Regions from separate parts of the Homo sapiens genome. Here regions 2, 3, 4, 5, 6 and 7 are each linked to region 1. The links are contacts of gene promoters, found by promoter capture Hi-C in blood cells and fetal thymus (Javierre and others, 2016). All regions are on one chromosome and are shown on one strand. Each heading gives the region's core, a stretch centred on a gene start or on the middle of the fragment in contact. The rest is flanking DNA. Distances are from core to core; before and after follow the strand shown. Region 1 holds the start of PRKD3 (protein kinase D3). Region 2 overlaps PIRAT1 (PU.1 (SPI1) induced regulator of S100A8 and S100A9 alarmin transcription 1). Region 3 has its middle 10 kb from the start of PIRAT1. Region 4 overlaps PIRAT1 (PU.1 (SPI1) induced regulator of S100A8 and S100A9 alarmin transcription 1). Region 5 has its middle 12 kb from the start of RMDN2. Region 6 overlaps RMDN2 (regulator of microtubule dynamics 2). Region 7 overlaps RMDN2 (regulator of microtubule dynamics 2).

Region 1 (4,027 bases), core at 795-3,294:
CTCTGTAATGCTCAGGAATGGAACACCTTGAGGAAACTGTAGTTCATGTTAAGCAAAAAATTAGATACAAAGATAGTTCTTTGATCAAATGTGCTGAAAGATTTACCCAAAGTGGAGGAGACCGCTTTATTTTTAAAAAGAGAAGCAGAACAGTGGAAATAAAATGAAATATATACATTACATATCTCTGTTTTCACACATGCACACAAATACTTAAATCTCTGTATAACAGCAGTTTGAATCGTCTGGAAAAGTTACTTCTAGGAAGAGTAACTTCTGTCACTTTAAGTACTACAGCAGAAAATGGAAGTTAATAGTGAGATAAGACTGGCTGTAAACTGCTCCAATGAGGTCCTGGGAATCTTGCTCAGAGGCAAAATTTGGGGCTGGACTAAAACGTCTGTTGGGAAGTGAAAGGAAGAAAAGGGCAAAGTTAAGCAAGAGAGTCCTTTAAAAAGAAGGCAAACTTGAGTAAATCTACTTTCAATTTTAAAGTAAAAGAATAGCTGAATAGGACTCTAATAACAAAAATATAGTAAGATTGAATTAGATACTGCTGGATGTAAGACATTTAGCAACTTCCAATTCCTGAGAATGTTTCAGAAATCTTTTTTTAAATAGATTTTTAAATAAAGTAATCAAGGTTTTACACAATCTTACCTGCCTTATGTTTAATATAAATTATCTTAATATTTTCATTTCTTAACTTTAAATCCGAGGACATCCATTAAGAGTGATGATTTTGTATCAAAAGTAGGGGCTAATTTATGTTTATTTTTCTTTCTATTCTTGAAAACTGCCCTCTTGGCTGGGCGCGGTGTCTCACGCCTGTAATCCCAACGATTTGGAGGGCCGAGGCGGGCGGATCTCTTGAGGTCAGGAGACCAGCCTGGGTAACACAGCAAGAGACCTCGTCTCTACAAAAACTAACTTAAAAGTTAGTGGGGCGTGGTGGCACACGCCTGTAGTCCCAGCTGCTTGGGAGGCTGACGCAGGATAATCACTTGAGCCCAGCAGCTCCAGGCTGCAGTGAGCTATGATCGTGTCACTGCACTTCAGCCTGGATGACAGAGTAAAACCTTTTCTAGAGAGAAAGAAGAAAGAGAGAAAGGGGAAAAGAAAGAAAAAGAGAGAAGAAAGAAAACTGCCCTCTTGATTGTAGTCCCTCTGATTGTTTCAATATATTTAAGTACTTTTGGGATAAAATGTTGACATAAGGAGAATCATGTGGCTTCTGTGACAATGCCTGTCAGCTTCTCAGGCCTTTCTCTCACATAAGACATCGAAAATTTATGCACAGTGTATTTTCCCTCTAGATCCTTATGCTGCTGACTCCCACTCCCGCCCCACTCACCCGACACGGTCATACTTTGTTTTGGAGCAAAACAAATGTTAACATTGTGTTTCCAGACACCTGGAAGCCCAGGTTTGGTGATTCTGGACTGCACTCCACTTTGGTGGTAGGGTCACATTCGCGTTTAAAGGCCGACGGGGAGGAAACACCGAGCACCGGGAAAACCCCTGCAGTCACCGGAACGTCGGGCTTGGGACGTGCCGGTTTGGGCGCCGAGCTGCGGTGCCGGCGGCCACCCCGGGGGCAGGCAGCAGGGAGGAGCATGCGGGAGGGCTGTGACATCTCAGGGTGGAAGCAGCTCTCTGCTCTGGACGCCTTACAAGTCCCCCGTTCCAACTATCACCTCTGGCCCATTGTCGCCACCGCCTCCCTCAAGAGTGCACGGCAGTAGAGGAAAAGACAGTACCGTCGGCAACAGCGCGATCAAGTACCGCGTGTAACTGATAGACACGCTCGCGACTCCCGCGGCGCCCCTGCCCCGTGCCCCCGCGCTCACGAAGACGCCCGGAACTCGAGGGTGCGGAGCCAGCCCGACTGTACCCGGCGCTCCCGGCGCCCCTTCGCGGGGCAGAGACAACCCCGACCTCCCGCCGCGGCCACCTCCCGGCGGGCGCGGGCCGAGGAACTACAGCTCCCGGCAGGCCCCGCGCTGGCCGCGCGCCCCCGCCCCCCGCGCGCCCCGGCCCCCCGCCCTCCGGCCCCAGGACGGGACGGGGAGGGAGGGAGGAAGGGGCGCCGGAGGCGGGCGGGATCCTGCGAGGCGCGTGAAGCCTCGCTGGCGCCTCGTCCGGTACTCAGACGCTGGCGGGCGCAGTTTCTCACGACGGGCCGAGCCTGCCACTGTAAGTAGTCGCCTCGGGGAGCGCTGAACAGACACCGAAAAAGTTCGCGCCGCCGCCGCCGCCGCTTTGTTCTCCCGGCCCGTCGGGCTGAGGCGGCGGCGGCCCCTCCCCCATCCCCCAAACCCCCAACCCCCCAACTGCACGCGGCGGCGGCGGCGACAGGACTCGGACCCCGCGCCGGGCTGGGCGGTGTCAGCCGCGCTGGGCGGGAAGTTGGGGGAGCGCGCGGCGGGAGGTGGGCGGCTGAGGGGGAGCGGGGGCGCCGCCGCAGCCGCCAGAGGGGCCAAGTTCCGGCGTCCGCGCGGAGGGCAACTTGGGTTCGCGCTCCGCTGGAGACCACCGCGCCCGGCCCATCGGAGGCGATCCGTTCCCGGGTCTCCCAAACTAGTTCCCGAAGCCAGACCCGCGGCGCTCGCAGTGCCGAATTTTGGACCAGCTTTTTCGTTTCATTTCCTCACTTTGCGTTGTAGTCGTCTCAAAGGGGTGAGTAAATGGTGCTTGGAGAATGTAAGCCCCTCGCCCCAGTATCCCGACTGCGTTTGGATTTGCTAGTTGCAGCATTGTTCCGAGTTGCTCCCTCCTGGGAGGTTTTCCTTAAGCTGAAACACTGAGGAGTGCCACTGTTTCTTTGAGCAGTGAAAATAACCATATACTACTGTATTGCCGGTTGGGTATTTTATTTCAGGTGAACGCAGTCAGAGGCATAGGCCTTGCCGTCTGCAGGCACACATACGATTCAAGCGACAAGTGTGTGCGCGCGACCTGCCGACTTTTCCACACACAGATTGATGGCATGGACGTAACTGTGTCTTCAATCACACCCATCCCCACAGGAAATAAGACTATCGGTGTCATCTTTGATTAGGAAGGATAAGTTACACCCTGAACTGCTGCTTGGTGCGACACAGCTTTTATGAGACATAGCCACAAATGGAACAAGAACTTTTAAATGCCTTAATTTGTATCCTAGAAAATGTTATTTTATTCCTCTGAAACTTTTTTTTTACCCTTCTACTTAATGTCGTCGTTCTTACATTTTTAGCGATTTTCATTTTCCTTAGCTTTGCTGCAGAAGGCGTCCATAAAGTTCCCCCGACTGAGATCTAGGCCAGTTTTTCCTTGTCAACGAACCCTTGCTTCCTTCCCTGTTAGATTCCGAGTTAAGATCAAGCATGGACATTCAGCCAAGAAGTTAGAAGATTTTCTAAAAGTAGGATTTGAAACGTGTCACACAGAAACCGTGGAAGGTTTTTCTTCAGTAGGTAGTAATACAGTTGTGGTGGGCCTGAGTGCATGAGCTTGGAGTACTCCTTGACGAGCCAGGTTCCATCCTCGGTTCTATAATTTAGTATATAGCATTTCACATTTCAGGGTGACTCAGGTTCTGTAATTTAGTATATAGCGTTTCACATTAAGAATGTTGACTGATGTGTATCTTAAAACTAATTTTTTAAGCATCCTAGATAATGGTAAGTCTTTTAGAGAAAATTTTAAGCTTTCAGTTTCATCAGATAGCCACTTTAAAATAGAAATTTCTTTCTGTTCGTGGATTTAAACACTGCCACACACACAGAACTTCATAAATAAAACTTTCTGATATTACATTTTTTTAAATTACGAATTGAAAACACCACATACAGAAAAATATGAATAGGTGGTCATTTAAGTGCAGTTTTCTTAAGGGACATTTTGTTCTCATTTTTTTAAAAGACTCTAAAGTTGAAAATACTACAGTGGAGTTAATTGTTCGTTTTTAAAAGAAACTGCTTGTACAGAGCTTGATATATAAGGAAATTCTTTGCTAGTACAAGTTTTAATTTGATATAATGCT
Region 2 (3,917 bases), core at 948-3,447, 520 kb before region 1:
GGTATCTTGAATCAGCTGTGATTTGAGGTTGGACTCACTCAATCATTTTGTATTTTAAGGCATTCTTTGAGGAAGTTCAGAGGTTCACTCCATCCTATTTGAATTAGATTGGGTCTTCAATTTATGGCCATTTAACTCAACAAGTGAAAAGAGTCATTTCTAAGTATTTCATTTTATAATAAGTGGGAAATGAATTGAAATAAAACAGATAAAACAAATAGCATTTTCCACACTATTCACCATTATCTTTCCCTCTGGCAATCAAAAAGTACCTGGCTAATGGTAGCGTGTAGCCAGGTACTTTTCTATTGCCAAAGGGGAAGATAATCTTATGTGACTCACTCCCTGCCCTCAAAGGCAAGGAAATAAGATTGTATGTCTGCAACACAAGCAAGACCATAAGTGACTTTAAAAATTAAGAGATGTGAGAATTGAACTAATCTTTCCAGAATAATGATGATGATAATGATGAAGACGACTGACACTATTTAGTGTTTGTTATGTGCAGGGCACTGTGTTGTTTTACATACTGAGTAGCATTTACACACGCAAGGTAGGGCACTTGTATTGCAAGCAGATGGAGCAGCAAGAGCACAAGCATGGAGAGGGAAGGCTCAGGGCCCATGTGCAAACAGAGCACTTTGGTTAGAAGGCGGGGTACATGAAGGGCACTGGGGGGGTAACAAAGCAGAATGGGTAGCTAGGGGCATGTTATGGAAGATCTTAATTCTACAGATGATGAGGAGCCACATATAAATTTTGAGTGATTTCTATAATTGCTCCCACCCTCCCTGATAGAATTTATCATTTTTTCTCCTGTGCCAGTTGTATTATGTTAAGTTTTATAGAAACATCTGTATCCTGTAGATGTTTCCAAGTTTTTTTTTTTTTTTTTTTTTTTTCTTGATTACAAGCCTCCTTGAGAGCAAGGCGTGGTGCAGAATAGGCTCTTACATGTTGTTCAAAAGAGTCATCATCGCTGTTACCGTCAATCTGGCTGCAGTGAACAGAATGGACAGAGGGGGAGGCAGCCCAAAGGCCAAGAGATAGGCAATGAGACACAACATAGGAGAGGAAGTGTGGACTGGGATGGGGGTAACATGAATTGAGAGCGGGAAGCCTGTGAGAGACAATTTGGAAGTTAATGTTGGTGAAACAGAGCAACTGTGATTTGATCTATGTTGGCGGGTAAGATGGGGTGGAATTGGGGTCCAGGCATTACGAAGGGCTCCCAGGAGACATATTGCCAGGGTAGGCAGAAAGAGTCCTACTCCAGGGGAAGGCAGAGCTAACTGTGAAGATGTGGGTCTTGCTCAGTTGCTCCTTCTGCCTGGAATTCCCACTCACCCCCACTGTAAGTAATCCAATCATACACAACTTTCAGGAACATCTCAGAACATCTCAGAAGCCTGTGCCTTTTAGATGCCTATCAGAATCTCTATTTCTAGGCATTAGCTCTCCCACCTTCCAACCCATATAGCATTTTAAGCTTCCCATGTGGCATGTTCAGTTTCATGTCACACTTATTTGTTCTCTTACCCCTTCCTAACAGAACATAGGCTCCCTTTGTTCTGTGTTCATACCATTTTATTCATTTGAGTGGAACAACTGCCCTGATTCCAGAGCTTTATTTTCAGATCCAAGGGGAGGGGAAGAAGTCAACAGTGACTCCAAGGTTTTTGCCTGAACTATCAGAAGGATGGAGCTGCCATTAACTAAGATGGGGAAGAGCATGATTGATAAGAAATAGCAGGAGGTCATTTTTGGACAAGATATATTTGAAAAGTCTACTACACAGCCCACTGGAGATGTTGAGTGGACAGTTTGATATATAAATTTGAAACTTAGGAGTGAGATACAAGCTACAGGTATACATTTGGGAGTTGTTAACTTACAAAGGGCCTTTAAACGCTTCAGACTGGATGGGATCATCAGTAAACTGAATAGGGCTAGAAAAGAGAAGACATCCAAGGACTGAACTCTGAGGTACTCCAGAGTTTGGGGAGAAAAGGAATAAATAGCAAATGAGACTGAGAAGTGACTGATGTGAAAGAAGGAAAACAAACAAAATGCAGAGTCCTAAACATAGCAAGATTAAAGGATTTCCAGGGGAAGGGAATCATCTATTACTTCACATTATGCTACTAGGTCAAGTAAGATAATGACCGAGAATTGAATTAGCAATGTGGAGGTCATTGGTGAACTTGAAAGAGTACTTTTGGTGGAATGGTGAGGACAAAGGTTTGATTGGAATGAGTGTAAAAGGGGAATGAAGGAGAGGAATTAGAGGCAAAAACTTTGAGAAATTTTCTGTAACAAGAGAAGTGGGACACTAGATGGGTGGAAAGATAAACTGAGGTTTCTTTCTTTTTTTTTTTTTTTTTTTTTCAGAAAAAAAAAAAATAATAATAGAAATACCAGCATGCTGATAGGAGTAATCCAAGAACAAGAGGAAAATTAGTGCAGGAGAGAGAGAGAGAGAGTGAGAGAGAGAGAGAGAGAGAGAGTGAGAGAGAGAGAGACAGGGAGAGGAGAAAGAGAGAGACAGAGAGAGGAGAAAGAGAGAGGGAGAGGAGAAAGAGAGAGACAGAGAGGAGGACAGAGACAGAGAGAGGAGAAAGAGAGAGACAGAGAGAGGGAGAGAACGGAGAATTACAAGAGTGGTGTCCTTGAACAGGTGAGAGGGAATGGGAGCTGGTGTACAAGTATAAGGAATGGCCCTATAGGCACAGATGGTTCATCCATAGTAATGAGAGGAAAGGTAGAGCACAGTTGTGGCAGGTGAGTAGATATGAAATGGAACATTGTGGAAGTTCTTTTATTTCTGCTTCAAGTTTCAGGAAAGAATGGGAAATACTTGGGTGCCAAAGGAAAAAAGAAAATTCAAACTAGGAAGGCAAGCTTCTGTGTTGATATTTCAGCCAGTGTGGGGAGGCGTCAGGAGTTGGTCAGATACTTTCCTGGCTTGGATTTTAATGGCTATGGAGGGACAGAGACAAGATTGCGTGTCTACAAAAGGTGCTGAGATGGCTACGTAAAGCCTGGACTCTCAAAGGACACCACTGAAAGGTTAGACTAGAAAACATTGTACCTGCTGGGCATGGTGGCTCATGCCTATAATCCCAGCACTTTGGGAGGCCGAGGCGGGCGGATTGCCTGAGGTCAGGAGTTCGAGACTGGTCTGGCCAACATGCTGAAGCACCGTCTGTACTAAAAATACAAAAAAATTATCTGGGCGTGGTGGCATGTGCCTGTAATCCCAGCTACTTGGGAGGCTGAGGGAGGGGAATTCTTTCAACCAGGGAGGTGGAGGTTGCAGTGAGTCAACATCGCACCACTGCACTCCAGCCTGGGTGACAGAGTGAAACTCCATCTCAAAACAAAAACAAAACAAAACAAAACAAAAAAACAGAAAACATTTTGCCAGTGGCCCAGATGATCATAGGGAAACTCATCTGGCTATGAGTGAATAAAAGCATCCTGCAAAATGCAAATCCCAGGCCTAACCTTCTCTCAAATTAGTGGTTCAAATATATGTTACCCCAGGAACCTCAAAACCAGAGCCAGTGATGCCCATGGGACGCCTGTAAAACACATGAAAAATCCATGGATGGATGCTCCCATAGCTGCAGGGGATTCTTGCATGAAAACAAGCCCCACTAAGGATGAACTGATGGTCAAAAATTATAAAACAGAGGAAGTTTAAAAAAATCCAACATGAGTGAAAATAAACAGATCCAGCTAACGGGAGGATTGGAGGTGCAAATACTTGAGATAATAGAACAATTGACTAGAGACTTTAAAATATGTGTATGTAAATAATTAAGGGTATAATCAGAAGCGTAAGAAAGTAACAACAAAATGAAAATAGAATTTCTAGAAGTACAATAAAAAATCAGTTAGTATTAAGAATGCAA
Region 3 (4,122 bases), core at 558-3,057, 560 kb before region 1:
TCACCCACCCATATTCTGGAGTTGTGAGAATTCCTTTTCACCCAGTTTTGTTGAAAGTGACCTCAATGTTCTTTCATCATTCTAGTTTCTATGTCTGTTTGATTATGATTTGGGGGGATTACATGCAATTATACCACTTCCAAATTATTGACATCTGAATGATCTCTATTCTTGCCATAGTTTTGAACCAATGGATGGAGCAGCATTGTTTATATTAAAATTGGAAAATAGGTGCTACAGTAAAGATTAATGAAGGTTTTCAAAAGACCATTTCTGGCTGGGCACAGTGGCTCATACCTGCAATCTCAGCATTTTGGGAGGTTGAGGTGGGTGGTTCGCTTGAGTCCAGGAGTTCAAGATGAGCCTGGCAACATGGCAAAACCCCATCTCTTTAAAAAATACAAAAATTAGCTGAGCATGGTGGCACACATCTGTAGTCCCAGCTACTCGGGAGGCTGAGGTAGGAGGATTGCTTAAGCCTGGGAGGTCGAGGCTGCAATGAACCAATATCATGCCACTTCACTCCAGCGTGGGTGACAGAGCAAGATCCTGTCTAAAAAAAAAAAACAACGCAAAACCAAAACAACAACACAAACAAACAAACAAAAACCCCTTCTGAGGAAGGATTTCCTAGCCAGTCTCTTTCCAAACCATCCCCTAAAATATGACTCGGCATTAAACTTCAAAGCTGAGTAGTTGTTTATATTACTAGATATAAAATTGGATATGAGGGTGATGTGGCCAAGACATCCCTCCACTGTGGTCAGAAACGAAATTGCAAAGGTTTAGGGTCAAGATGTTTTCCCAGTTGAGGTGTCAGTTATAAATACCTGTTTTAAAGACTCTCAAACAAAGTGGTTTGATTTCTTTTTGTTGTTGTTGTTGTTGTGTTGTTGTTGTTTGTTTTTGAGATGCAGAGTCTCGTTCTGTCACCCAGGCTGGTGTGCAGTGGTACAATCTTGGCTCACTGCATCCTCTGCCTCCTGGGTTCCAGCGATTCTCCTGCCTCAGCCTCCCAAGCAGCTGGGATTACAGGCACATGCCACCATACCCTGCTAATTTTTGTATTTTTAATAGAGATGGGGTTTCACCATGTTGACCAGGCTGATCTTGAACTCCTGACCGCAAGTGATCCACCTGCCTCGGCCTCCCACAGTGCTGGGATTACAGGTGTGAGCCACCGGGCCCGGCATGCTTTGATTTCTTAATGGCCCTGTAAGAGTTTGGCTTAACTTCATCCTAAATGAGACTTCAGACTGTGAACCATGCTGAAGGAATCTCTTGGACCGCCTACCTCAAAGCTTCTGCTTGCAACCACAGAACACACACACCCCACACCATTTGAAGTGTCTGCCTAGCATGTGACCATCTTTGTGGTTATAATTTTCAAATATCTATTTCTGTACCCTTTTATGGAGAATTCAAATCTCTAGTAGAAAATCCTCTTCTAACAAAACCTTCCCATTGCATTTGAGCAACCCACAGACCACTTGGAGAGCTTTCAAAGACCAGACTTTGGGAACCTGTAATTTAGAGCATCAAAGGAATTAGGATGTCTTGAGTTGAGGAGGACCAAAAAGGTACTTGGTACAGTCTCCTCCCAAAATTTGAAAATGAGTAAAGCAAGCAAGTTATATTTATTTAGATATGAAAACTGACTTAAAGTGATTAACTGTGGAACCTAGATGCCAGCTGAGACCTCCCCTGCCATTTGGGGATTTGGAAAACTTTCTATTGGGACTCTACTGGACTCCTGCATTCATGAATATTGTTTCATCTGCCTTCAATCTGGAAACTTCGACTCCTCGGAAATTTCTGTAACTGGTCTTTCTCTTAATCATCTCACAAAGCTAGTGATGTCACAGAGAAGTCCCAGGGAGTTATATGACATCGTATTCCACATTCTGCCACCTCCTGTGCTCTCCTTTCTCCTCTCTTCCCTCCCCCACTTCCTAACCTCATCTCCACTCCTTCACAAGAGAGCAAATGATCCTGTCTCCTTGCACTGTGTGCCCTTTCCAGACGGTCTTAGCACCAGCTAAGATCCACTACCACCCTCCCCACCCCCTCAGAGACTCACCTGCTCTAGTGGCCCTATTGAGGATTTTTCCAACAAGTATGAGATTCCTGTGAAGAGGGTATTATCGGCCAGCCACTGAAATAATAAAAATATCTTCATCTCTTTTTGTATATGGCAGACAAAAAGATCATAAAATCATGAAACCACATGAAAAGCTATTTAGTTTCTTCCTCCACAGAGGAAGATCCATGTAGAAAAGCTCAGAGCATGCCTAGGTGATGTCAAAAGCTTCACCTCCATAATTCCTTCCCTTAGAGGGTTCAGCAAATGTTAATTACCTTAATCTTATGCCTCTCTCAATGCTATTTAAGCAGCGGGAGTGATTTGCAAGGCAGTAGGGCTAGGAAGGGTCTGAAGTCCCCTGCCAGGGCAGGCATTAACCCTTCAGTTGTTGTATCATGGGATGATCCAGGGAGAATTGAGAGGGACAGAAAGAGTCTGAGCAGTGAGGGTAGGGAGGAGGAGGTTGGAGGGAGTCTTTAGGGGAGTTGGAAGCTATTCAGTTGGTGCAAAAGTAATTGTGGTGTTGGCCACTGAAAGTAACTATGTATTTCTATGTAGAAAGAGCTCTGCTGGAGTCTACAGAAGGCACACACAATGGAGAGCTCTGGCTTTAAGGATGCCACAGGCGGAAACTGACAAAGGTGTTGCCAGAGGGATTCCAGGAATTCTGAGATGCTGAGGGGAGGTTGTGGGGCAGGGAGCACCTCAGGCTGATGTGGAGGTAGACAAATAAAGGCTAGTAAAGACACACACCCATCTGAGAAAAGACGTGTCTTTGTAGGTTTGCAGGTAATATTAGATGAAACCAGAGAGCTCAGCATTGAGAGCAGATGCAAATGGTGGCAGCAAAGCAAGGCACTAGCTTCCAACTGTTCTTAGAAGGAAATCTTATGCCAAAGCTGAAAATGTAAAATGGACTAAAGCAGAACTATGCAGTGGGGATGGGGTGGGATAAAAATACAGTCTGAGAACTGCTGGTTCAAAAGAAGACCCTCAGTGGCAGGTGCTTTACTGAGGGGTTCCTGACCAAGATCCCCACAGGTAAGGCGTCAGATTCATCAGAGTCTGAGAGACCAACTCAGGCTAGAGACCAAGTGTAGGAGACGGAGGTCAACACCAAATGTCAACTACTCTTCTTAGTGAGAAAAAATGGACTGGACTGTTTACAATTTTCTGTACTTACTATATGGCAAAGTGAGTCGTAATCAGAAACCACTTTATTAATTTATCATGAGAAAGCATGATCATCAGTCTGGAACTGTGATTCAAAGTCTGTATCTTTAACGTTCTCTTTTCATATAGACATATGGAAGAACATAATCAGAAGGACTCAACTAAGGGGAAATTAAAGAATGAAATCAAATTTTTAATCACATCAGCTAAAATATTCTGATATTTCTATCTTCTAAATCAAGAGACTCCAAATTTTGATGATAGCACACCTCAATCAGCAAAAACTACTGGGGCCCACATTGCCAGTATAGGCCTATTTATTTATGAATTATGTGTACCTTCTACTGACATTTTGAACATTAAACATCAATCAAAATTAATTTAAAAATGGGCCGGGTGTGGTGGCTCACGCCTGTAATCCCAGCACTTTGGGGGGCCAAGACAGGTGGATCACCTGAGGTCAGGAGTTTGAGACCAGCCTGACCAACATAGTGAAACCCCGTCTCTACTAAAAAAACAAAAAAATTAGCTGGGTGTGGTGGTGGGTGCCTGTAATCCCAGCTACTCGGGAACCTGAGGCAGGAGAATCGCTTGACTGGGAGGCAGAGGTTGCAGTGAGCCGAGATCATGCCATTGCACTCCAGCCTGGGTGACAGAGAGACCCCATCTCAAAAAAGAAAAAAAATAGTTCGAATATTTTCTTTACTTGTTACAGTGGAATATTTCAACTATCATTTAATAAAAGAAATAGATTTTACATACATGAATTTCCTGTGTATGACTCTTTTGGATGGATATATTGAAAACATTCTATAAAATGCATAAGATGCGTGACAATTACTTTCCTCAGGTGTGCTCTAATGAGA
Region 4 (4,321 bases), core at 745-3,244, 540 kb before region 1:
CATGATTGGAAAGCAAATCTATGTAAGTGTTCTAAGTAGGCTTTAAATAAAATTACTTTAAGAAAGTTGAAGATTACGTGGTGGGTGAATAAGAGTAATTGTTTTACAAAGGATTTCTAGACACAAAAAGATCATTTTCCAAGAATATTTTCTTTAAAGAGGAAGTTGACCAGTTGCTATAAGCAATTAGTTATTTAATAAAGAGTTTCAGTTCTATCTAAAATTAAGACAAAGCACCTCATTCAGAATGGGTGTCACCGGGGAAAAATCACTGAAACTGCACACAGCTGTTTACCTTTTAGTACCTAGTGAAGCACACCTGAGTGATATTTGCTTTTCTTTTCACAAAGGTCAACAACAAAGTTGCAAATCATCTAATGTATCTAAATTTTTAATATCAAATCACAACTTTGTAACTAAGATTTCCAAAAAAGGGTTATTCTATGAGTTACCTTGACTTTCAAAGCAAATACACAAAAGTAAAGAGAGCCTTGCTATTGCTCCTTCAGGATCTTATGAACTTGGCTATACAAATGTCATTCATAATCCATTTGACCTCTCACGTCTACCTCCCTAGAAACATTTTTCATAGTGGAAATTGCAACTAGAGCCAGTGGTCAGCTCTTCCACTCACCCCGCCAGCATTAGCAGCAGAGCCACATCCAGAAGTCCGGAGGCAATGTGAAACTTGGCTGGGGTCACTATGGCCACGGAACCTTGTTAAGAACAAAAAACAAAAGGTTGTGACCTTAGTCGCATCTAAAGGAAAGACATTCCTGCTTTAGATTATAAACTGGTTTGGATGGAAACCAGCTGATGTGTGGACACTCTGATGGTTTCAATAGGCTTTTCAGCTCTTGTAATTATCTCTCTGCTAAAGTAAATGTTAGTGTAACCATTGACATTTGATAAGTCACTCTGTGCTACCCAAGGCAGAAGATAGATAAACTTTAATCATTGTTTGGGTAGTCAATATGCATTTCTTATCATAGAACACTATCCTATTTTTTTTTACCTTATGTACAGAATATATTCACATAAATGTGCACTTACGTTGACATAATTGCACATGTATGCAAGTTTTTCTGCTTTTTAGTATGTGCATAGTTTTAAAACATGACACTCCTAGAGAACAAATGGTGACTTTCCTTTGCAAGTTTGAAGATCAGGCAGTGGTAATGGAGAGGCAGGAATGAGAACCTACTGAGAAAACACAGCAAATTAAAGATGAAGTGGTTCTGCAGGGACCACAGGCCTGTGGGGATGTGTTTTTGCTAAGACTGATTACATGTTGTCCTTTTCCAGCATCATGCATGGCACCCCTTCTCAGATTAGCGAGAATAATCTTTCTCAAAAGATCAGAAACATGCCGTTTCTCAATAAGGAGACAACCTGTCAAAATTATGCATCAATAAAACCATAACTCGAGGGCCTTAGTCATTTACAGCCATTAATTTCTTCCATCTTCTTTGAAATAGCCCCAAGGGAAGAAGCAAGTGACAAGCACTTCACACACGGAGACATGGCATACTAGGGACTCCTGCCAGCTCTACAGGATCCAAAATAGTTTTTTGGCATCTGAGCAAGGAATGGGTTCCAGGCTTGAGACAACTGTGCACATCAGAGGAATGGGTTCCCTCCCTCCAGCTGGGGCCCCAGCGAATCCTGCGGTCCTCCCGAGCAGGCTGCTCTGCTTTGAGGCAGCCAACGCTTGACAAAAGCCAGCTGGGAGCAGCTCAGACCAAGCCCATGCCCACACACTGCTATAAAAATGTTTTAAAGACCCCATTACATCTTATTTACTCTCCTTAGCAAGAGAAAGTATCAATGTCCTCCCCTCTCCTTCCAAAATAGGCAATATTGGCCTCCCTCTGGGGGTTCTTCAAAGACCCATTAATAAGAGCTCCTTTTCTGGGCATTACCAACTTGCACGTGAGTTGATGGAGATCAGTTTATTTCACATTCAACAAATGTTTCCTGAACATTCACTGTGTTCAGGGCACTGTGCTATGTCTAAGGGAAAAGTTCATGGAGGAGTAATAATCATGAAAAAAAATAACGGCTCAGGGAGGAGTAATAAAAATAATAATAATAATAAGAGCTCCAACATACTGTGCTTCCTACTATGTGTCAGACCCCATTGTAAGCATGTTACAGGATTGTCTCGCTTGATCCTTAAAAACAATACTGTAAGATGGGTATCGTCACTCCTATTTTACAGATAAGGAAGCTGGGATTCAGAGAAATTAAGGGACTTGGTGAAGCAGAGAATGCCAAGGGAATTGATTCAGTAGTGGACGGGGAGTCCCTGAAGACTGTTGAGCAGTGAAGAGACCTGATCGCATACTAAAAAAGTACATGCAATGGCAAGAAGATCAACTAAGAGGTAGGAAAATTAGCCAGGAGATAGGTAACATTCAGTGAAAAATGTGATGAAGGTTGACATGCAAATCTAAACAATATGCATATCTGCCTATATGTTTTAAGAACACAGACAACTGCAATAAAAACTATAAAGAAAAGCAAGGGAATTGTAAATGCAAAAATTCAGACCAGTAATCAGTTCTGGAAGGGTGGGCAGGTGCAGATGATGTAATTAGGGATGGAACATCAGAGGGCTTCCAGGTATTTAAGTGCTCTATTCCTGAGCTGCCTTGTAGGAACACGGGTGGCCATTGTATTTTTTGAAACCTAGATACCTGAGTTTCACAAACTCTCTCAGATCATAAAGCCCTTAGTGTCTCAACAAATTTTTCAGTGTCCCAAGACAAAACTAAATACCTGTGTAGGTTGTTAGGTCCCCAAATCTTAAAAGTCGTAGATTGTGTATTGTCCCTTGAAAACTGATATACGCTGTGAAGCCTCTGTGATTTCACTGTGGTGTCCTGGGTGCCTCAGCACAGAGACTGGGAACCATGACAGTGTAACATCATTTATGTTCATGTATGAAATGTTTCATGGTATATTTATATGTGTTAAAAATATAATTTATATATTAAATATATTATATGACACAAAGTTATACATAAATGTGTAATAAATTAATATTTAAATATAGAAATATGTCATATAATATTTATAAATAAAAGATAGAAAATATATGAATATATAAAATTTAATAAATTATACATTATATAAAATATATATTTAAATATAATAAACGTATTATACATTATATAGAAAATATATTATATTTGAACATAATAAGTGTTTGTTCAATGGTGAGGCCAGTGGAAACAGGAGGGGGTCTGTCTTCTTGGATTTTCTTGGCTCGGTGACTGACTGGAGGTGGGCACGGAAGAGTCAAAGGCCACATAAAATGTTGAGGCAGAACACGAGGAAAAGTGTGAAGTCAGTGGTAGGATCTGGCTGAGGGATTATGGGAAGGAATAAGTGTCGTTTGGGGTACAGAGATTTGTGGCAGCAGAAGGCATCAGATTGCCAGCTGGTTGAATATTTGGGACCAGCTTTTTGTCCCCAAGGCTTGGAGCAGGGGACAGATCCAGAGAATGCTACACAGAGATGGGGCAGGAGAGGAGAGACGACAGAAAGGCCAAGTGCAGGGATTACATGGTGAGGGCTGAGGGCAGAGAGTAGGGAGACCCCTATGTGTTTGCACAGGAGGAGAGAGAGGAGCCGGGAAGAAGTGATGGAGGAGCTTTTGGAGAGAATGCGGGGCAGAGAGCAACGGAGCACAACCTCACAGAAATTGAGGGAGACCTTTCCAGAAAGAGGGTGGGGTTGGGGAGGTTGTTAATGGAGTCCAATACTGGGACAGTCACAGATAAGAAAGGTGGATCAAAGCCATTGGAATGGACAATCATGAAGCCATGAAAAACAGATGGTGGGTTACTCTTGCTCTTTGAATACATTTGAAGGTAAAGAGAGGGGGTCAAAGAGGTAAAAGGACTTTTTCTTGTTGCCTTGTGAGCAACGGAGCACCTGTGCTCACTTCTAGGTAGAGAGAACAAAGCCAAGGGAGAGGGAAGCTTTAAAACAAAAAATCAGAAGGGAGGATGATTGGAGCAAAGTTACAGAGGGGGCCCAGGACAAGAAAGATGAGGGTGTCATCCTCAGAGACAGGAGGAAAAAATGAATGACTGAAGCTTCAAAAGGAGAGACATGGAGAAAGGTCATGTCTATGGCTCGGTGTCTCAGGAGAGTGAGAGGACAACCTGAGGGAATGAGGCTTGGGTGGGGACTTGAGGAGAATGGGAAAGACTTGGGGAGCCAATCTGAGAGATGCCTGAAAATTCATGAATCTTGTCCAAAGGATTGTCCAGCAGCCGTGAGGGTCATCTGCAGGCTCGATAGCCCGTGT
Region 5 (4,124 bases), core at 1,397-3,896, 590 kb before region 1:
TGTGGTAGAAAAAAAGAAAAGCGTGGAGACTGAAAATCTAGTTGGAGATGGGAGTCACAAGAAATAATACAGAGGCTGCCCATCCTTGTTTATATGTATGTTTACAGTATCTAAATAACTGTGATAAGTGAGTCGTTTATTTGATCTGCCATCATACTATGCAGAAGCCATCTAAGCTGGGCGCGGTGGCTCACGCCTGTAATCCCAGCACTTTGGGAGGACAAGGCAGGTGGATCACGAGGTCAGGAGTTCAAGACCAGCCTGGCCAAGATGGTGAAACCCCATCTCTAGTAAAAATACAAAAATTAGCTGGGTATGGTGGCGGGCACCTCTAATCCTAGCTACTCAGGGGGCTGAGGCAGAGAATTGCTTGAACCTAGGAGGCAGAGGTTGTAGTGAGCCAAGATCACGCCACTGCACTCCAGCCTGGGCCACAGGCAGAGACTCCAACTCAAAAAAAAAAAAAAAAAAAGCCATCTAAAAACACTGCAAACAGGGTGTCAGAGAAACCTGTATCAGAAGCAGAACTAGAATTGGAGACAAGTCACTGAGGGGATCTTACCAAAAGGATGGTACTGAGCAGATAGAGAAAAAGAGTATAGGGATCCTGAACCCCCAGAAAGAGCAAAGATGCTAAAGGAGTCCATTCTTGTTTTTCCTGGGATTGATTATGCTACCCTTAGCTGAAAACAAGAACTGCTAAATAACCAGCCCGTAAGTTGAAAGAACAACACCTACTTCCCTATGGGCTTGTGGAGACGGGTCATCTCAGCAACTGCCAGCAGACCCCTTCCCCAATAACACACACTCCAACTTGGTTCTCAGGTCTGTGCAGGAAGAAATAACCCCCTAGTAGAGGGCAGTGCTTATAAAAGAGAAGCTAGCTGCCCTCTTCTACCTGTGGGGCTTGTGAAGAGTTGGGTGTTTGCCCAGAGAATTGCTGATAGTGCAAGAAAGAAGGGGATCTATCCTCTACATCTCCTGTCGGAGGCCTGCGGAGTCAGGGCTCGCTCTCCTGCACCTAGGCCTTGTAGTCTAGGAAGCGCCCTGGGGAGAATGGCAAGTAGTGTGACCAAGTGGAGAGAGTAATGTTCCCAAGAAATACTGAAGATAGATCTTATCAGTACCCACACTCACAAGGGTGGTAGATGTGACTGAGGGCTGCAGAAATGCTGGGGGGCCATTATAGGGAGGGGGGGAAGGGCATGTGCAGTCACAAAAGTGTGGCTTTTTGCCTTCCCCTGGGTGGTGATTGAAAAGGTTTGAAAGAGATTGCCATTGCTTAGGAGTGCTATTTTGGATGTGTCCACACTGTCAGGGCCACTTGTACCCTCCACCTGTCCACACCCAGGGTACAAGGATTCCATGAATTAGATCAGCTGTGCTGACTAAGAGAAAGGATACAGGACCTGAATGCCCCCACTGACCACCTCCATCCCCAACTCTTCAGGTTAAGGGGAGCATCGCAACCAACCAGAAACAGGGCACCCGGCATGCCCTGGGCAGCCACCTGAGGAACCGTCTTTTCTCCTTCTCCTCCTACCTGCACTGATAGCAGAGGAGCAGGAAAGGGAGAAGGTGAAGACAGTGAAGATGGAGAGGAGTGATGGAGAATATGGCTAACCTGATCTAGAGTGAGGGGAGAGAGCTGCTGAACTGGAGATTGAGATGATTGAGATGCTGACTGGGCTACATTTCCATACATTTCCTGACTGGAGTCAGGCTGACACATGGTCAAGGAAACCCACCATGCAGTAGGAAAAGGGAATTTGATAGAGCATAATTGACAGCAGTTTGGAGAAATAAATTCATTCCATGTGTTTATTAGGATTCTCTAAAGGGACAGAACTAATAGGATATATGTATAAATGAAGGGGAGTTTATTAGAAGAATTGACTCACATGATCACAAGGTGAAGTCCCACGATAGGCCATTTGCAAGCTGAAGAGCAAAGAAGCCAGCCCAAGTCCCAAAACCTAAAAAGCAGGGAGGGTGACAGTGCAGCCTTCAGTCTGTGGCCAAAGGCCTGAGAGCCCCTGGCAAATCACTGGTGTTAAGTCCAAGAGTCCAAAAGCTGAAGAACTTGGAGTCTGATATTCGAGGGCAGGAAGCATCCAGCATGGGAGAAAGAGGAAGGCCAGAAGACTCAGCAAGTCAAGTCTTTCCACCTTCTTCTGCCTGCTTTATTCTAGCCGTGCTGGTAGCTGATTAGATGGTGCCCACCCAGATTGAGGGTGAGTCTGCCTTTCCCGGTCCACTGACTCAAATGTTAATTTCCTTTGGCAACACCCTTAGAGACACACCCCAGAACAATACTTTGCATCCTTCAATCCAATCAAGTTGATACTCAATATTAACCATCACAGTGTTACATATGTATAAATGAACTGACATTAGAGGACTCTATTTCTGAAATATTTGGAGTTCACCATAAGAACTTGACTCACCTCCCTGTTAAAATCCAGTTGTCTTGGTTTTCATTCCTTATGACTATTGATATTCATCTGTATAGGAAGAAGGAATGGATTCACTCTCTTCCAAGCTTAATATATAATTCAGTAGCAATTAGTTACCTTAATGACTTTCAGAAACCCCAATGCTAATATTACACCCAAAGGAAAGATGGAAAAAATTATCTCCTTGTCAGCATTCTCTGGGAACTGTTACCTGAATCAAATAGGTCCCCGGAGGAATGGCCAAATTAAATTAATTTATTTTTACAACATAATAGCATTCATGAGCAAGCTTTGGGATTGCTTGCACTTCAAATCAAGAAGAATTCCGTTACTGAAAATTTAAAACCAGCCATATTTGCTTATCATAATTTAAAGACATTTTTATCAATAAAATAATTCAGCATTTAGATTTTAAAACAAATAGAAGTACATTAATTAAAGAGATAAAGCACCCTGTCCTTTTCACTGGATCCTGCTTTCCAGAGGTAAACATTGTTAAGATTTTGAGTGTACAATATTTTTGCATATGAATGCAAATTTCTATGATGTATAAACACGTGTGTATGTTATATATACTGTTTAAACCATATAATGTTCTGCAATTTTTTTCACTTAATGACTAGTTCATTTTGATAACTATTTCATTGTGAGAATATACCGTAATTTTTAACTAGCCTCTGAATTAATAGACCTCTAAGTTATTTCCATCACTGGCTATGAAAAACAATGACTCATTGCAAGTACATTACAAGAAAGAAAAAATAAAATCAGTGCCTGTCATCCAGGAACAGATCTGATGTAGTAGGCCTCAATGTTATTATAAACTAATGTGATGCTTATAGCTAACCCATACTGTTTTCATAGAACATCCAGTTCTGACAAGGATGCTGTGCAATACAAAATGCCAAACACCTGCCTCTCTTAATAAATGAGTGACTGCTAATTCTTTACTAGTTACAGCTTTATCCTAGCTCTTGCCTGCCTTCCCTATAGATAAGATTTACTGAGATACCCAATGACTGAATTGCTTCCTTTCTGACGGTATCAAGAGTGTTCTGTGGAACCTCTCTAAAACTATCCAACTAAAACCCAAATTCTATAATCTGCTCATTCTAATATCATCTTACTGAGACAACCCACAATCAGCTACAGGTGTGTCCCTGATGGTCTTTATTGGAGGGTATTAACAATTTAGTTCTTTAAATATGTAGGTAACATTTTTAGAACTGGAATTCCTGAGTCAAAGAGATCAGTGTTTAAAATTGTGGTAGTTATTGCCTAATTACCCTCCACATATTGCACAATTTTAAAATGCTCACCAACAATTTTTCTGTTGGTTGCTAGCCTTTTCATACAGTTATGTAAAGTTTTCTTTATGATGATGATAACGACTGCAATGAACTAGACACTTTGCTAAGTGATTCCCATGTAACAGACAACGTATTATTAATGCTCATAACAAACCTATGATATAAGTACTGTTGTTCCCGTTTTAGAGATGAGAAAACTGAGGTGGTTAGAGGCTATGCAGTTGCCCAAGGTCACTTGGCCAGGAAGTGCTAGAGCTGGAATTTGCCCTGTCTAGCCCCAGAGTCCCTGCTTGTATCCACTGTACCATGGAGCCTCATTACAGTAATAGAAAATGTGCTGGGTCTACATGAAAAAGTT
Region 6 (3,962 bases), core at 1-2,500, 610 kb before region 1:
TTGTTGACTGGTTTTAAAATAGGGAAGGAAAATATTCAGAAGGAATCTAAAATAATCTTAAATCATTTGAAACTGTGACTCAGAAAAGAGACCTAGTCGGCGGGTGGGTGGGTGGGTAGCAGCGCTGGGCCTGTGTCTTGAGCCTGGAGGGAGTCTGCTCCTGCCGCCCTCTGCCCTGCCAGAGACAGACCCATGCGCTGCCTGCCCACTGTGCCCCTTTGTCCTCATGTCAGGCGGAGGCGGAAGGCCCACCGTGCCAGAGGCTGGGCACCAGCCTTAACCCTCACTCTGCTAGCACCTCCTCCCTTTCCCTGAGGCAGCACATCTGGCTCACTCTCCCCTCTGTCTCTGGAGTCCACCAGGGAAGGCCCTCATCCCCTGCTGCTACTTCTTTGGGGAATGTGGGTTCCATCCAGGGTTGGGGGCCTCTCTGCTCACCCACTCTGCACCCAGGATCCTAGTCCCCTGCCCTCTGGCACGGCTGCTTCCTGCAAGAAAGTAAGTCTTTGGTCTCCCTGAGAAGCCATGTCCCTCGTGCTGTCTCTTGCCTGTCCCACCTGCGCCCTGCCCTCCAGCTTGTATTTAAGTCCCTGGGCTGCCCCTTGGGGTGCCCCTCGCTCCCAGGTTCCCCTCTGGTGTCATGTCAGGCATTTTGCAAGGAAAAGCCACTTGGGGAAGGATGGAAAAGGACAAAAAAATTAATAAATTTCCATTGGCCCTCGGGTGAGCTGAGGGTTTCTGCAAGGAAAAAAAGAAAAGAAAAGAGACCTAGCCACTGGATTAACCCATGCAAAGATGAGACAGAGTCACCTATATACTCTCAAGTCTTTTTTGACCTGCACTAAAATTCAGTAGCCAGTAGCCCAAGTGGCTATTTAAATTTAATTACAATTAAATAAAATTACAACTTCAATGACATAAAAGGAAAATTCAGTTCCTCAGTTGCATTAGCCACATTTCATGTGCTTTGTGGCCAGAGGGGGCTAGTGGCTACCACATTGGGCAGCACAGACTTGGACCATTTCCATCACTGCGGAAAGTTCTTTTGAACAGGAGTGGTCTAGAGAATTCTCAGAAGGAGTCAGAGTGGCTACATTAAAACAGTAGGTTATACACTTTGGCAAGTAATTACTGCCTTCCTCAATATTCACATAATACCACCTGCTACCAGTAAGTTTTTTATATTCCTTTTGTCAATATGGTCTAAACTAGCTTAAATACTGACTACTGAATATGACTTTAATTATAATCTAAGTCAAAATATCACTCCTTTTCATTTTATGTGAGCAGCAGGATATATGACTGGAACCCATAATGAAAATACCTAAATAATAGTAATAATGATAATAACCAATTCAACATAGGAAATATCTTAAAGAAACTTACCCTCCTTCACTTTCTGCTTCCTCTGAACTATTACTTGTTGCTGAACTTTGAATTGTGGGGAGTCTTCTTTTTCTCGCTCTGTGCTGAGGGCTTATCTTATGAACAGTTATTTTCCCTCCAAGTTCATCTTGTATATATTCCTCCAGCTTTGGAATAGCTTCTTTAAGAAATCTGATTTCCTCTTTGAGTTCTTCCATATTTGTCAGTAATTCGTTTAACTTCTCCAGTATCTGAAGTTGCCTTTCTTGAAAGATTACTGTTGTTCCTTGGTCATCATGTATTTCATCTTGCAAAGTTATTGAATTAAATGTATTACCCAGAGAAAGAAATTCAGGTAACTTCATTGCTATCCCTGGTTTACGGACCTTGTGGTACCACAAGAGCAGCAAGCTGATTCCAGCAGTGCCCACCATGATGCCAAGTATCAACTCTTTGTTTGTGGAATAAGGCATTTCTTGGTTTTCGTTTCTAAAATTAAAAACATAAATGTAAATGAATGTTGTTTATGTCTTTGTCCAAGACAAAAATATAGGTGCTTTTTCAATCAACAAAAGCCAAGTTTACATCACAGGATTTACAAAAAGTAGGACAATAGCCCAAAGGGTGGGAAAGGACAAATGGAAGTATACTGTTGTAAGAGTCTTAGATTACAATGAAGAATTATCATATTAAGTTAAAGATGCATAGCTGTAAACCCTAGAATAACCACTAAAAAACAAACAAACAAAAAAACCCCAGGCAATACATATCAAGACAATAATAGAGATAAAAATGGAACACTAAAGATACTCACTTGGTCCAAAAGAAGGCAGGAAAAGGAGAAAAAAGAACAGATGGGCAAATAGAAAACAAATAGAAGAGAAATTACGCCATTATTAAGTGCGAAAATGGTGCCAAAAGATCAAGAAATAACAGGTTTTTTTTGCCAACAGAAAAGAGTCCATAAAAAGAAAAGAAAAATTGATGAAGTAGACATATAGAAAACTGCATAGCAATAAACTTGAGAAGGCAAAGGAGGTGGGCTCTATCGCACAAGCACAGGAGTTGACCTTTGATGGGAACATAAACCATTCATTCATAGTCATAAAAGGCAGATTATGTGAGCAGAGATTTAAATAGGTGGGTAGATGCAGTGGTGGGAGGTTATGCAAGCTCTCTTTGATTGCTTCACTGTTCTAAGATAGGAAGTGAAGATAGGAAGCAAAGTAAATAGCTGGGAGTGTGAATTGGGGAAAAAATATCAGTAAGATGAAAATTCTGAATTAGGTTGTATACCCGAAATTCACCATCCTCTGCTTTATATCCTGTGATTCCACATATTCTACCAAGCATTGTTTCTTACACTTCAAATGGCCAACTAAATGTAATGTTTCAAATGCTTCCTTGGTGGTCTACTGGTTAGGATTTCTGGGCTCGCAAATGCCCTATGGAAGAGGGTCTGAGAGAACAAGCAGCCATAATCTATTTCTGAAAAGCCTGCTTAAAATAAGAACGTCTTTGGATTCCTATTTCACTAGAGTATATGCCTGGAACACAGAAAGTATCCTGTTTGGATGTTCTACACTTCATTACAGGCCTAAGTGTCAAAGAGAAGGACTGACTTTAAAATAATCTTCCAGAAATTACCTCAGGTGTTAGTGAATATTATATCCAAGAGATTTAAGAATTCCTTCTTTTAAACCAAAGATTCCAGAGAAAGCCTTGGTACTTAATCTGGCCTGCTTTACCTCACAGAAATTTGCCTGGAATTAACTTAAAAAAATTTTTTTTCACCTAATTGGTATAACTGGGAACTATAACCATCTGCCCACTCCCAGCTCATCCAGGAGACATGCCAGCAACAGATTCCAATCAATTTGTAACTTCAGCTGAAATTGTAGCTAATTATTGCTAGATGTGTAAATGTATTCTACAAAAAAATTGTATCACAAAACTAAATTATCTTGAAAGCTTATTGCAAAAAAATAAGTCACTCTATGCCCATTAATTACAACTGCATTCCAGCTAATATTCACACATCAAGTTTAATCATCTTTATTTTTGTCAATAAAATTATTCAGGCAGGATGTCCATTCGCTGATATAGAGGTCTATTAAAGGAAATCTTCCTATTCTGATTGCTTTCTTTTGCCCATACCTTGGACTTTTACATTAAGAAATATAGCCTAGTTTGAAAATATTTTCATTTAATAAGCAAATAAGTAGAAGTAAAAATCTACCTAGGAAGGAGAACTTATTCTTGAGACAGGACCAGGTTTCAGCAGGTGGGAAAGTCTTATTTTGCTTGGCCCTTTCTTTAGGAACTGCACCAATTCCAAATCATCTCTTCCATGCAGGTCCTATTATTATTTTGCAGATAAGTGAACTGAGGCACACAGGTGTCAAGTCACTTACCCAGTGATCACCCAACTGGGAAGTGAAAACTGTCACCTTTGACAACCTGTTCCTAACTCTTGGATGCACCCACAACATGTGGGAGATTTGGAAAGCATCAACAAGGAGGTGAAGGAGAGTACTGACTGAACAGAGATGCTCAAAGCTGAAATATTATTTCAGAACCACAAAAATTAACTAGAA
Region 7 (4,389 bases), core at 1,170-3,669, 620 kb before region 1:
AAATATCACTTGCAAGAGAAAAGAAGGATGATGTGCTTTGTTGATAGGAGGCTGTATCAATAGTGTTCCCAAAGGCTGGAGAAGTAGTGTTTGTTTCAAAATTCTTAAAATTTTTAGTGTTATATTCAGGAGCAGAGATGGTTATATGTTTTTTAGCATCAGTATTACTTGAAGTTTTAGAAAAGATTTCGATTTCATTTAGATTAAACACATTCTGGCCACTTGCTTGAGGATCAAAAAAAATGGCACTCTTGTAATAGGAAACTATACTTAGTTTACGGGATGAGAAACGTCTTCTGCGGGAAATAAAGCTACCACAATGGTCTGAGGAAGATTTTATATCAGTGAAGCCTGTGTCTTCTTCAGAATCAAAGTTAGCTCTACTTTGTTGCCAGTAAGGGGAAGCATTTCTTTTTTGAAATCCAACAAATAAAGAATATCTTCTTTCAGAGAAAGATGGACTTGATACAGATAATAACCTTCTACTTGCTTTGGCTGCATTGACTTTATGTGTTACAGGGGAATAAGATGTTTTATGACCAAGAGATATACTTGGTTGTGAAATAGAAGAGGCTCCACGATGCTGGGCGTCTGTACTAACTTGATCTTCTGGAGAACATCGTTGGAAGCTCTGGTCCTCTTTGCAGCAGCTAAGAGTGAGAAAAGGGTCAAATGAGGAAAAAAAATAGGGAGCAGAGTGGAGACCTGCCAAGCCTCCTGAAGAATAATATCCACCTTTTGGTGTCCACCAATTGGTATTGTTTCCATACTAATATGAAAACAGCAGGGAATAAGAAGAATAGGGGAGCTTAAGTTAATGGTCACACAGATGTACCCAAAAGAATGCGGGAGTCTAAGAGGTTATCTCTACCTACACAGTACCTACCCACTCTATTAAACCTTGGGAAGAGAAGTTGAAAAAATCAGGGAAGCAGGTAGAAAGAAAGATCAGGGGAAACATATGCAAGGATACCAGAACAAAAAGATTCCCAAAGGAAAAGATAGAACTGGTTTTAAAGGTAATAAACCACAATATCTGTTGGAGATTACTAACTACTGTATTTAAATGAGTTAAGGAGAATAAACTTATATTCTGTTGACTAATTGTATTTTAAAATATTAACCATGGATGAAGCACAATCTCTCTGGGGAGAATGTTTCAAGTGAATATCTGGACAGTCCAGGATATCCAGTTATTATGGGAAACAAAGGAGAGCACTAAAGCTTCGTTTATGAATATTTTCAATGTTCTTTTAGCACATGTTGAAGTTTTTTTCTAAGGCTTACCTTAAGCACTTTCCCATTGTAAATTTAATCCAAAGTAAGTCTCTCCCTTCCCTTCTAGGCCGTCATCCTTAAGCCATAAAATGCCCTGTAGAGGTGGAACAGGTCAGAAGACTGAATGCTCAAGCTGCATGTGGAGTTAACATGGCAATAACACAGAATGTGATGACAGCAGACTCTAGAATCTCATGACATCAGTTTATATTAGAACTGTTCTGTAGCTCACCTTTCTCCGAAGTTGGAATTCACATGGCTGTGGAATGTGTTTCTACCTTCACTGTTGGAGGAGTCATCCAACAAATCCAGGGGTGGGAAAACAGCTGGATAAGGACAATAACATATATGACAGCTGTACAATCCTTTACCTTGGACCATCTCTCTCACCTTGGACCATCTCTCTCACCAGCTGCCTTCCACACCCCTGTACTACTAACTCCTTCTTCTTTCACTTGAACATTCTTTACCCCAGATTTTTGCATCCTTCAGTGATACGGAAAAGCAAATGTTAGAGACTTTGGCCTAAAGATACATTGAGAAGGGAAAAAAAGTTTAATAAGTAGCAAATGTCATTGCCACCACAAAGGAAACAAGCATCGTTCACCTTGGCAGTAAAGTATGCCATCTGACTGCTTGGGCCATTTGCACAGATTACGGGGATATGCTGTGGCACTATTTATCACTCCTCAGAACAACTGATACTCACCTAAATGCAAGGTTAATAGAGTTATTAGAAAAGAAACACTGTCCTTTCTTATCTAAACCAATTTGGGCTATTGTCCCCATAACAGGTATACGTGTATGTGTATACTTACCTATGACATGAAACACCCCCTCAAATACTTTTATTTACTGTGCAATTTCCTGATCCTAAATACTACTACCGCCTCTAGCCTTTGCTCCCTTCCTAACACCCTACTGCAGGAAACCCTTGAACAAATTCCTTTTAAGAGACCCAAAGCTCTCTAACGTTCACCATACAATGGTCGGATTTGTAATTTGATTTTAGTTTACATACAAACTAATAAAGTAATCTCTTACTGTATCATGGATGCTGGCAGAAGACATGAGATTCGTGGGTTAGAGACAGAAGACTTATGTTACTTACAGCATAGCAAAGCAGCATAATCACCAGGACATTTACATCAGTTCTCCTTTGTCCCACATTGCCACAGGGGCAATGCAGAGGGCCCAAGGACACTTGCCTTCACAGTGGATTGTGTTACAGGAAAGAACGCTGAGCTTAGATGATCTACCACTTCTATAGCAAGTAGTAAGCAAATCTGCTAAACCTGCTCTTGGTCCTGAAGGGAAACAGTAACTCATTCTTCAAGGTTGCTCACCAGAACCCTGAAAAATGGCCCACATAAAGAATGATCAGGGCCTTACATGTATGGCTCATGTAGCAAGATGTCTGGGAGCACAAGAAGCCCAAGGAGGACTGTCTGTCTCTGTAGCAATCTATTACATTTTCCCTCTCTTGTGAGACTACTGTCTTTTGTTCCTAAGCCGCACTAAGGTCTGATTGTCATTTTCCAAAAGGATCTCTTTTGCACATTGCAAGAACATAATACGTAATGCTTATAAAGTTTCTATAAAAAATTTTTCTTTGAAAAATTGGGCCAGCTTGTTGTTTAACACTCCCACCAATGGCCTCTAAAAGAAGCATCTGCTCACTGAGCTACCCCAAAGGAAATAATTATTTGTAACTAAATCTCAACACTGTCAATCACTGCTGCTCAGTCGAGGTAATAAAGAGGTCAGATCACTCCCCCGACCTTATTCAAGCAAATCTATGATTATGCAGACACAAAAAACGGTGTTTAGGTGTGTGCGCATTTGGGGGATGAGGAAGAAGATCCAGATCTGCTCAGACATCAGAAAAGAAATCTCATACCAGTACAGGAAATATCTAGAAGCTGATTAATATCGTTCTAGGTGAAGAACTTACCTAACCCTCTAAATGTCTGCAAATTGCCTCCTTTTGGCTTTTTAAGAGAACCAAAATTAGACTTAGCCCAAAAGCAAATAGTAACCCCTTATAATGACAAGCATCTAAAACATGTTCGTCCTTCAATTCATTCCCAATTCTCTTTATTATCAATTCCATGACCCCAGGTACCTTCTGCTTTTATCATGCCCTATGGCCACCCAACCCTCCTCCTTTTCTGCAACAGCCACTCTATTCTCACCTAGGTCAGTATTCCATCATTATACTCACTGTGCCCAATGAACCTTTTGTTTATCTGTAACCATAATTACCACTCATTACAACAAAAATTTCATCATGATTGCTCATGTGGATGTTAGAAAATCTTCTAGAACAAAGCTTCTCAAATGTTAGGGTGTATAAGAGTCACCCACAGAGCTTCTTAAAATGCAGATTCCTGAGCACTGCTCCCAGACATTCTGATTCGCTAGGTCCGGGGTATGTCCTAAGAACATGCATTTCCCACACTCTCACAGGCAAGACTGGATGCTGATGTTGCTGGTCCACAGACCACAATTTGAGTAGCTGTGTTCCAGAACATACGGGTCATGACGACCCCCAGAGTCAAGGCAGAAGCGTCTTCTGAGGTACCTCACAGCAGCTGCCTATCTAAGCTGGAGTCTAGAAAAGACAGTGAACAATACTAGGACTGAATGTCCCCCTCCTGGTACCTAGATGACAAGTCTCTTCAGAGAATCTACATTACACACGGGGAGAAGTAGGGGGCACAAGGGGAGAACCCTGACTGGGACTGAATCCTTAACACAAAGAACATGCCCCAAACTAAAAATTGACTGAGTTAACTTGAATTGACAAATTTAAGTTTTTCTACATTATTCAAAACAAATATCGTGAAGTACTCTGAATTCAGCTATTGAAAAATGCACATCTTTAGCTGATCTGAGTGTAGTATCATTCTTCAATAATAATACAAACTATTCAATTCATTACATTAATTTAGTTGTTTTTATAGTTTATCAAATGTGCCTGATTGTGGACAGTAACAGCAACATTCATTTTTAAATTAGCACCAGGATAACTGTTGTATTTCCTTTCATTACAACATTAAACTCTCCACATAAGTTCCCTGTTTGTAGTTTGTTACTCAGATGACACAG

The links. Contacts are between HindIII fragments. The CHiCAGO score rates a contact against its expected background, and 5 or more counts as called.
Region 2: a fragment that was not itself captured here is called in contact with the fragment with the promoter of PRKD3 in region 1 in 15 of 17 cell types (total B cells, naive B cells, naive CD8 T cells and 12 more); the score reaches 14.9 in total B cells.
Region 3: a fragment that was not itself captured here is called in contact with the fragment with the promoter of PRKD3 in region 1 in 12 of 17 cell types (M1 macrophages, fetal thymus, total CD8 T cells and 9 more); the score reaches 9.0 in M1 macrophages.
Region 4: a contact is called between a fragment that was not itself captured here and the fragment with the promoter of PRKD3 in region 1, in 12 of 17 cell types (M0 macrophages, M2 macrophages, endothelial precursors and 9 more). The highest score is 9.8, in M0 macrophages.
Region 5: a fragment that was not itself captured here is called in contact with the fragment with the promoter of PRKD3 in region 1 in 3 of 17 cell types (M2 macrophages, total CD8 T cells and activated CD4 T cells); the score reaches 7.5 in M2 macrophages.
Region 6: a fragment that was not itself captured here is called in contact with the fragment with the promoter of PRKD3 in region 1 in 3 of 17 cell types (naive B cells, naive CD4 T cells and non-activated CD4 T cells); the score reaches 6.6 in naive B cells.
Region 7: a fragment that was not itself captured here is called in contact with the fragment with the promoter of PRKD3 in region 1 in 1 of 17 cell types (M1 macrophages); the score reaches 5.9 in M1 macrophages.

The regions. Positions count from the first base shown.
Region 1 is chr2:37,322,850-37,326,876 of GRCh38, reverse strand. PRKD3 (protein kinase D3) reads left to right here and starts at 2,044. Exons shown (of 19, transcript NM_005813.6): 1 at 2,044-2,196. It overlaps PRKD3-DT (PRKD3 divergent transcript), which reads right to left and starts at 1,796. Exons shown (of 2, transcript NR_183394.1): 1 at 1,355-1,796; 2 at 113-400. RefSeq lists a silencer at 1,684-2,313 and an enhancer at 2,954-3,033. The HindIII fragment of the contact is 7,598 bases long and covers 1-3,693 here.
Region 2 is chr2:37,845,063-37,848,979 of GRCh38, reverse strand. All of the region lies in intron 2 of PIRAT1 (PU.1 (SPI1) induced regulator of S100A8 and S100A9 alarmin transcription 1), which reads left to right. Among named protein-coding and RNA genes, the nearest start is that of PIRAT1, 29 kb to the left of the region's middle. The HindIII fragment of the contact is 1,412 bases long and covers 1,492-2,903 here.
Region 3 is chr2:37,884,116-37,888,237 of GRCh38, reverse strand. No RefSeq gene overlaps it. Among named protein-coding and RNA genes, the nearest start is that of PIRAT1, 10 kb to the right of the region's middle. The HindIII fragment of the contact is 1,007 bases long and covers 1,304-2,310 here.
Region 4 is chr2:37,863,179-37,867,499 of GRCh38, reverse strand. PIRAT1 (PU.1 (SPI1) induced regulator of S100A8 and S100A9 alarmin transcription 1) reads left to right here. Exons shown (of 4, transcript NR_110012.1): 2 at 2,222-2,386. Among named protein-coding and RNA genes, the nearest start is that of PIRAT1, 11 kb to the left of the region's middle. The HindIII fragment of the contact is 3,994 bases long and covers 1-3,991 here.
Region 5 is chr2:37,911,358-37,915,481 of GRCh38, reverse strand. No RefSeq gene overlaps it. Among named protein-coding and RNA genes, the nearest start is that of RMDN2, 12 kb to the left of the region's middle. The HindIII fragment of the contact is 203 bases long and covers 2,545-2,747 here.
Region 6 is chr2:37,927,154-37,931,115 of GRCh38, reverse strand. RMDN2 (regulator of microtubule dynamics 2) reads right to left here. Exons shown (of 11, transcript NM_001170791.3): 2 at 1,387-1,854. The coding sequence starts at 1,838. Among named protein-coding and RNA genes, the nearest start is that of RMDN2, 3.8 kb to the right of the region's middle. The HindIII fragment of the contact is 4,176 bases long and covers 1-3,338 here.
Region 7 is chr2:37,947,494-37,951,882 of GRCh38, reverse strand. All of the region lies in intron 2 of RMDN2 (regulator of microtubule dynamics 2), which reads right to left. RMDN2-AS1 (RMDN2 antisense RNA 1) reads left to right here. Exons shown (of 4, transcript NR_102712.1): 4 at 1,346-1,549. Among named protein-coding and RNA genes, the nearest start is that of RMDN2, 24 kb to the right of the region's middle. The HindIII fragment of the contact is 2,386 bases long and covers 1,227-3,612 here.